2 separate regions of the Homo sapiens genome follow, and region 2 is linked to region 1. Evidence: promoter capture Hi-C in 16 types of primary human blood cells and fetal thymus (Javierre and others, 2016). All regions are on one chromosome and are shown on one strand. Each heading gives the region's core, a stretch centred on a gene start or on the middle of the fragment in contact. The rest is flanking DNA. Distances are from core to core; before and after follow the strand shown. Region 1 holds the start of GINS3 (GINS complex subunit 3). Region 2 overlaps LINC02137 (long intergenic non-protein coding RNA 2137).

Evidence for each region. Contacts are between HindIII fragments. The CHiCAGO score rates a contact against its expected background, and 5 or more counts as called.
Region 2: a contact is called between a fragment that was not itself captured here and the fragment with the promoter of GINS3 in region 1, in 1 of 17 cell types (endothelial precursors). The highest score is 5.2, in endothelial precursors.

What each region holds. Positions count from the first base shown.
Region 1 is chr16:58,390,109-58,394,070 of GRCh38, reverse strand. It overlaps GINS3 (GINS complex subunit 3), which reads right to left and starts at 1,600. Exons shown (of 3, transcript NM_022770.4): 1 at 1,284-1,600. The coding sequence starts at 1,469. RefSeq lists enhancers at 807-1,383, 1,288-1,777, 1,384-1,961. The HindIII fragment of the contact is 2,062 bases long and covers 771-2,832 here.
Region 2 is chr16:58,447,564-58,451,500 of GRCh38, reverse strand. All of the region lies in intron 2 of LINC02137 (long intergenic non-protein coding RNA 2137), which reads right to left. Among named protein-coding and RNA genes, the nearest start is that of LINC02137, 28 kb to the right of the region's middle. The HindIII fragment of the contact is 3,618 bases long and covers 141-3,758 here.

The DNA of each region.
Region 1 (3,962 bases), core at 351-2,850:
AACGAAATCCTCATCTGCTAGGATGAAGTCAACAGATAATGTCTACATTAAAAAAAACAACCCAACAAGGTAAGTTTAAGAATATTATTTAGAAATATGAAGATGAATCTTGAAGACACCACTAAAAAAGGTACATGAGCCCTGTGGACTTGGAGGGGGAAGTGGGAAAAGGAAGGCAGGACCTGCTATTTTTTTTCTTATAAATCTTTTGGTACTATTTGACTTTTTTTTTTTTTTTTTTTGAGATGGAGTCTCACTCTGTCGCCAGGCTGGAGTGCAGTGGCACAGTCTCGGCTCACTGCAACCTCTGCCTCCTGGGTTCAAGAAATTCTCCTGCCTCAGCCTCCAGAGTAGCTGAGATTACAGGCGCCGGCCACCACACCCAGCTTTCTAGTAGAGATGGGGTTTCACCATGTTGGCCAGGATGGTCTGGATCTCTTGACCTCGTGATCCGCCCGCCTCAGCCTCCCAAAGTGCTGGGATTACAGGCGTGAGCCACCGCATCCGGCCTATTTGACTTTTAAAACGTTGGTTATGTATTACTTTGATAAAAATTAACTTGAAACAAACAGACCAAACAATAAACATCGTTCTATACAAAACTTAGGTGAAACAGGATATCCAAATTAATCATTACAAGCCATGTTCCTGGGACAATTTTATATTTGAAGCCATATGGCCTTGGGTTCCGAATCCCAGCTCACCACTAACTGAAGCCCTGGCCAAGTGACCCAGCCTTTCTGGTTGCTGAAGGATTAAAGGGAAAAGCTTACTCCCCACACCCAACCATGCTGCCACTAAGTAAGCCTCAGTAGGGCTTACTGATCCTGTCATCATTATGGAGGAATGAATTTAGCAACTTGGGGTTCCTACTTATCACATGCTCTTACAGAACCCAAAGCTGTTTTAAGGCAAACATGATCAGAACTCTAATTCTTAAGTATTCAGCTGGAGCCAATCTTTAAGCATTCAACACACGTTGCATGGGGTAGGGGGAAGACACTAATTTGGACAGTTTCAAAAAAGAAATCAATGTTGGAGGCTGCCTGGCGACCTAGGATAAATGTAGTTTCACCACAGATGGCGAACAAGAAGTCTGGAGACCACCCCGAGCGCGAAGGGACCCCCGCGGAGTTTCCGAGAAGTCGTTAGCGCCTTCGGCCCTGGCTCCTCGAAAACTACAAATCCCAAAGGGCAGCGCGCCCCGATGCGGCGTCCCAGGGCCGAGGGGCCCGCCGGGAGCTGCAGTCTTTCCGGGCAGGACCCCGCACCCAAAGGCTCACCTGTGGGACCGCGTTGTCAGTCTCGGCGCCTGCGCTCCGCTCCAGGAAGAAAGCGCCAAGGCGAGGCATGGCGGTCTCCGTGCGCACCGGCAGCTTCTCGTGGGACATCAGGATGTCGTCCAAAGAAAGAAAGTTCTCCTCAGGCCCCAGCGCACCCGACTCCACTCGGAAATAAGCCTCTGACATGGCGGCCACTTGAGCTTCTCCGCTTCCACTCGCGTGATTCGGAGGAGCCTCAGGAGTTAGGGGTGTACAAGACGGGGAAGCGGAGACTGGGCAGGATGGTTGGGGTCAGGAAAGTGGATTGAAACTCGTTTCCCGCGCCCGGGGACGCATCAGACAGGAGCAGTCAATTCGGGCGGTACCGCCCAGGCAGAAGCAATCGATCAAGTCTGCAGATTTAGAGCAGCGGGACACGGCTGGGGAGCGGTAGGTGGGGGCGCCGGAAGTTCTCTTCCCTCCGCTTGCTGCACGGTGTGGGAACGTTACGAAGAAGCTGGAACGCTCGTTGAAGCTCCTGGACCCATTTGTACTGGATTGTGTTCATGTGATCCTTAACTATTTATATGAAATTAAAAACACTTTGCAACACTTTTAGGGGTTTAAAATAAAAGCATCTTGTGCCCTTCACTCCAGGCCTAAGTCCGACCCTTTCCTACAGTTTTTTTCACTATGCAACTCCGTTAATCTTAGTATTTGAAAGAAATGTTAAACAAACAAAAACTTCCAGCACTATCCCCAGCGAGTTATTATGGTCTAGATGATGAACTAGTGTGTTGTATTTTGTTAGTATTTTGGTGGGGGTTGGACGGGGTGGGTAGAGGGGTGGAGCACTAGACTGCACATGGCTTGCTAAGGTTGTGAGTATACTTCAGGGTGTCTTAGCTCATCATCAACTGACAATCTCCTTTTGTGGCTCTGAATTTAAATCCCTAAAAATGGAAATCCAATTGGTCCAGTTTATTGATTGGTCCAGGTACGCCACAATGGTCATAGATCTCCAGCCACCCTGTAGATGGGGGTGCCTGTGTTGGGTGCGATCACTATCCAGTGACCAGGGGAAGGACCATGGTCGCATAGTACCAGGTTTGGTGGCTCTCCTCAGCCAGGGCTATGGGTGGCGGCATATTGTTGAGAGATGCACTACAGAACTTACTTCGTCTAGAGCATTTCTGGGGCTACTGGAGCCGGGAGTAAAGGGTGTGTGTGAAGGGAGGTGTGTATTAACCATGGATTTTAGTTTCTGTTTTCTGTATTTTATGATGCTTTGACATCTTGGGGCCTTGGGGACCTGGGGAGGAATTGCCCCTTTCAGAGTTAGCTAATTCCTAGAGATAGCAAACAACTTGCTTGTGAACACCCCTTTCATTTACAAACCAACCAACCCAAGCCTATATCCCCACACCATCTTTATCCATCTCACACACCAATATTTTCCCTGCCCCAAGTCACTGTAATAAACCACCCCATGGCCAAGTACCAGACAACTAAAATTCACCTCTATATCCCAGAGCTTGCCAACATTATTCAAATTATTCAATCCTAAGCTTGTTCAGACTTCCCTTCCCTGCTTCGCCCATTCCTTCCCACGGCAATAAAGGCTCTGGGCTTTCTCCTCGCTCTCTCTACCTCCTCATTGACCCTAATACTTTCTCGTGTGGCCGTAGGCACAGCCCCTTCTCTTGAGAACTATAATAAAATTTTCAAAGGCATTGGCCACTAACTCATTGATTGTCATCACCCAGTCACCTTTATAAATGAAATTCTGAGGACAATGAAAACAAGGTGCAGTGGGGTGGAAAGGAATGGCCAAACTGTGGAAAATCTTGGTACCATTCTAAGGAGTTAGGCCATTCCATAGAAAATGGGAGGAAAATGTAAGGCAAATAATAACATAAATCTGGGCTTCAGGAAGAGAATTCCAGCAGTAGATAAAGAAGAGAGAGATTAGATGCTTGGAAGCTGTTCAGTGGGCAGTATTTGGCAACCAATTGGATATAGGAAGTGAAGTATAGTGAGTAGTCAAAAGATTCAAGTTTTGAACGTGGCTGACCAGGTGGATGGACATGTCATGAATAGATACACAGAACACAGGAATAGGGGCAGCTGGAGGGAAGGGATGAGTTCAGTTTGGGACACATGGTGTCCAAGAGCTACTAGACAGGAAGGTCTGCAGCCCAGTGGAGAAAGCAGCCTAGAAGCTTTAGAGAGGAGGCACACTGAGAGGCAGTTATATGAAGGTTTTTTCCTTTTTCATATTTTAAATGTTCAGTTTGTGATACAGTCCAATGTAAAAATAAACACAATCTGCAGTGATAATTTAGAATTTCTCTGATGACATGGAATATATGGTACTGGATGTAGTTTGAGACAGAAATATAATTTGGCTAATTGAAGGCAATGTTATTTACTGCCAAGGAGAGTAAGCTATTTTTTATGCTGATATAATTAAGATAGATGCATACTGATTTATTGATGCCAAAGAAAGGCATTATTTTTGTACAGAGACCACAATACTGGCTCCAAACTCAAATACCACTATTATTTTAATAATACAGTAACAGGCCAATGTTTAACATAAAATCAGATTGCCTTGTTTGTCTTACTTAATGTCTTGGCTCATCATGAAACTATCATTGTGTATATATTGTTCTATTTAAACTGTCCTCTCCTTGAACT
Region 2 (3,937 bases), core at 700-3,199, 57 kb before region 1:
CTGGTGTGTGGCACAGCCTGTCCCGTCCCACCCACCAGAACCACCTTGTGAGCACAGATTCCTCTTTGCCAAGCCAGCTGACATATTCAGCAGGCTCCTGACTTGCTGAGCAAAGCAAGGGTAGTGGTGAATTCCAAGCTTTCCATGCCCTCACCCTGACATGTGCAGGGGTGGCATAGAGGGTGTGGATGGTGTGTGTGCATGTGCGTGTATGTGTGTCTTGAGAGGAGGGTGTGTGTGTGTTGTATGTGGGAGGGGTTGTTTAAGCACTCATGGTTGAACCCATTTGCATTGCCTCTTCTGGGTCTCATAACTGAAAGTGTAACCAGCAAGGGTCATTTTCTTCTTCCCTGTCACCCAGGGGGGTGGGAAGAGGTGCTTAGATCTAGAGTTAAGGTTGGGAGCAGGGCCCCTGGGAACCCTGGGATCCCACAGCTTTGGAGCTGTGTGATGTTGAGCAAATTGCTGAATCTCTCTGAGCATTATTTTCCTTCTCTTTATATCATTGAATCATGATGAAGATTAAATGAGAGTGCATAGAACGCATTCAGCACAGAGCCTGAGGGACAGCAAACACTGAAAATGAGCTTTTGACGATGCATGCGTTTGGATCACAAACTTGTGGAAGAAAGAACACCAGGAGGAGAGGAGAAGCCCAGGGTTCCACAGGCAGAATTCGTTGGGCTTTAGGCAGGAGTTTGGTCATCTTCACCTCAGTTTCCATGTCTATAAAATGGGCAATAGCTGAATTGAGCAGTTGCTTAAAGCCATGGCTAAAATTATGGAATTCTAGAAAATAAAAGTGAAAACCCCAGGTCATCGCCGAAGTTTTCCCTTCTTGAACTGAACTCTTCCCTCCCATTTCCTCAGATTTGAAGGCATTTGGCAAGTGTTAGCACATAAAGCCGAAGGACAGGCATCTTGGTTTCTCCTCCCTACTTTAAAGTCTCTGGTTGAAAGTCTCAGAATCATCTGGAGACCTTGTGACTCACAAAACCCCTGAGTCCTGACCCTGGGACCCTGGTTGGTTGGGGACAAGGGCACCAAAGCATCTGTATCCTTAATAAGTTTCCTGAGTGAGTCCAAAGCAGGTGGCCACTCTGAGAAATTAGAGACCAAGTGCTCTGTTGGGGATTGCCCAGATACCCCTGGGAAGAGTTCTAGACTTCCAGAGTCCTGTCTCCAGGCTCCTTCTCCTCCATCCTAAGACCCTGAGAATTAAAGGAACGAGCTTTCCCAGACCTTGCCATCTCTCTCTTCCTCCTATTGAGCATCGTTGATCTCCGTATTTTGATCAATTTCCAATCACCATAACTGTTCTTGGATCCAGGTCAATTGACGTTGGTTCTGCAGATGCCTCATCCTGGAGGCACAGGTAAGTGATGCTGGATCTACATCAAAGTCTTCCCCAGTCTTGGGAGCACAACTTGAAAAGTCTGCTGTTAGGGCGATGAGACAACTTAGATAACAGTGTGATTGGTGTCCAGGAAGCCACAAGCCCCAAGTGCCAGCATTTCGTCATTGCATCCTGTGCCTTGTTGGGCTAGTGGGTGCCTGGTAAATAGGAGGCAGAGGAGGAGAATAGTCTTGCAGCAATAGCTCACTGGTTTACCAGGAGCACCCCCCCACCCACACACCGCTGCCTTTTATTTTTTCTTAAGAGATTCTGGAGGCCGGCTTCATCTGCTTTAAATCTCATTGTGTGATTTCTTTCCTATAGTGAATCAGCAAGAGTCTAAGGTCTCAAGTGATTTCAGTGACCTTCACCACATTCAATGCCCTCTTAATCCAGAATCAACTGTGCCCCTTGTGAACACACACCTGCCCTTCTTCCATCTCATTCTTCATAGGAACAAGCACAATCATCATCAGCAAGCCTCAAGGGCTCACCATGGACTGCGAATCCATCTGAAAAGTTCTATATAGTTGTCACTACAATCCCATCAATTAGGAATTTAGATTATTCCCATTTTACAGATGAGAAAACCAAGGCTTGAGGAAGTTAAAACTTAACTTGCTGACAGTCTTACAGCTGGTCAGTGGTGGAGCAAAGACTCGAGCCTGGATCTCTAAGCCCACACTTTTAACCACTCTGCCGAGAGCCTTTTCATATTGGTAGAAATGCCTGGTTTCATAGGATAGCCCCTCACCCAAGCCCTCTTCTGTACACCCCTTCCCCAGGGCCGCCTTCTAGCTAGCAGTCCTGCAGCCGTTCCCATTTGCAATGAATGTACTCCATCCCTACTTCCTGGAGTTAATTATTTCAAAAAGACATTTGGAAACTCAGACCTGCTGTCTAATATGTTCCCTTTTGCTAATTCAATAATCCTGTTTTTCAAATATGAGTGTGTTTTTTCAACTTGTCATTGGACTGATTACTCAGCAGATATTATCTGATCATTGTTTTCTTCTTTGAACTCATGCTCACACAAGCCCGATGGATTTCAGAGCGGAGACCTGTGATTTATGACTGGGGTGTCTATTCACCAAGGGCAAGGCCTTGGCTCTCTGTGTGCTGAGGCTCAGCAGTCAGCCAGGACATAAGAGAGCCAGTCTGAAACCCTGAAAAATATAACCTACCAGATCATGGCAGAAAGAAGCAGCTTGAGCTCCTACTGGTGCATTTGGTTCACCAAATGCTAAGAGTGGTTATATCCAGGTGGTGGATTTTAAGGGAATTTTTAGTTTCTTCTTTATACTTATCTGTTTTATTTTCCACTGTAGTTTCCAAAGTCTGTATAATTTTAATAATAAAATAAGAATACATGTATTGTGATTAAGGCGGGCGCAGTAGCTCAAGCCTGTAATCCCAGCACTTTGGGAGGCCAAGGCAGGCAGATCGCTTGACGTCACGAGTTTGACACCAGCCTGGCCAAAATGGTGAAACCCCATCTCTACTAAAAATACAAAAAAATTAGCCTGGCATTGCGGTGGGCGCCTGTAATTCAAGCTACTCAGGAGGCTGAGGCAGGAGAATCACTTGAACCCGGGAGGCGGAGGTTACAGTGATCCCAGATCGCGCCACTGTGCTTCAGCCTGCGTGATTCTCAAAAAACAACAACAAAACCACAAAAAACAAACCAACATTTATTGTGATTAAAAATAAAGTTAATTCAATAAGATAAATATTATCCTTTAGGCAAAGCCTCAGATGAGTCTGGCTTTTATGAACTTGTTAAAGCCATTCCCAGAAGCAGACCCCTCTGAAAATGAGCAAAACTCGATGCCAAAAGAGAAAACAAGACCATGGCTATTAATTATGTTCATATATTTCTAAAAATAGAATGAAACTTGAGCTTTAAAATGTAAACTTTATCATTTGTTAAATCTTAGACATCACTTTTGTTTACCCGCGGGCATGACTTATGTAAATTTGCAAGTGGACTGTAGCGTGGATCTGTTTGTGTGTTTTTCATTCAACAAACATGGATTGAGCTTCGCCCTATACAAGTCAGTATTCTAGGCTTCAAGGATTCGAGAAGGAATGAGGATGGAGCCTCAGGATTGAGCACCTCCTAGTCTAGGGGGAGACAGTTATGCAAACAGTTACACAATTTGACAAGTGCTCTAGGAGTGCAATGGGGAAGACCAAAAGAGGCAATCTTTGCTCTGCCTGAAGAAGTCAAGGAAGGCTTCACAGAGTAGGTGACTCACACTTAGAATAGGAGTTTTCCAGGTAGAGAAGGTGGGGAAGACATTCTGGGCAAAGGGAAGAAGATATGCAAAATTACCTGGGGATGATGGGGATAGGAAAAGCTTGTGTCCATGAAATAGCAAGTTGCTGGTTGTGATTACAATTTAGAGTATATAGTATGCATTTGTAGATGTTGGTTGGATGGTTAGGAGCCTTGAATGATGGACTAAGAGGTTAACTTGAAGATAGGGAACTATTAAAAGGTTTTAAGCAGGGGAATGGCATGATTAGATTTGCCTTCTA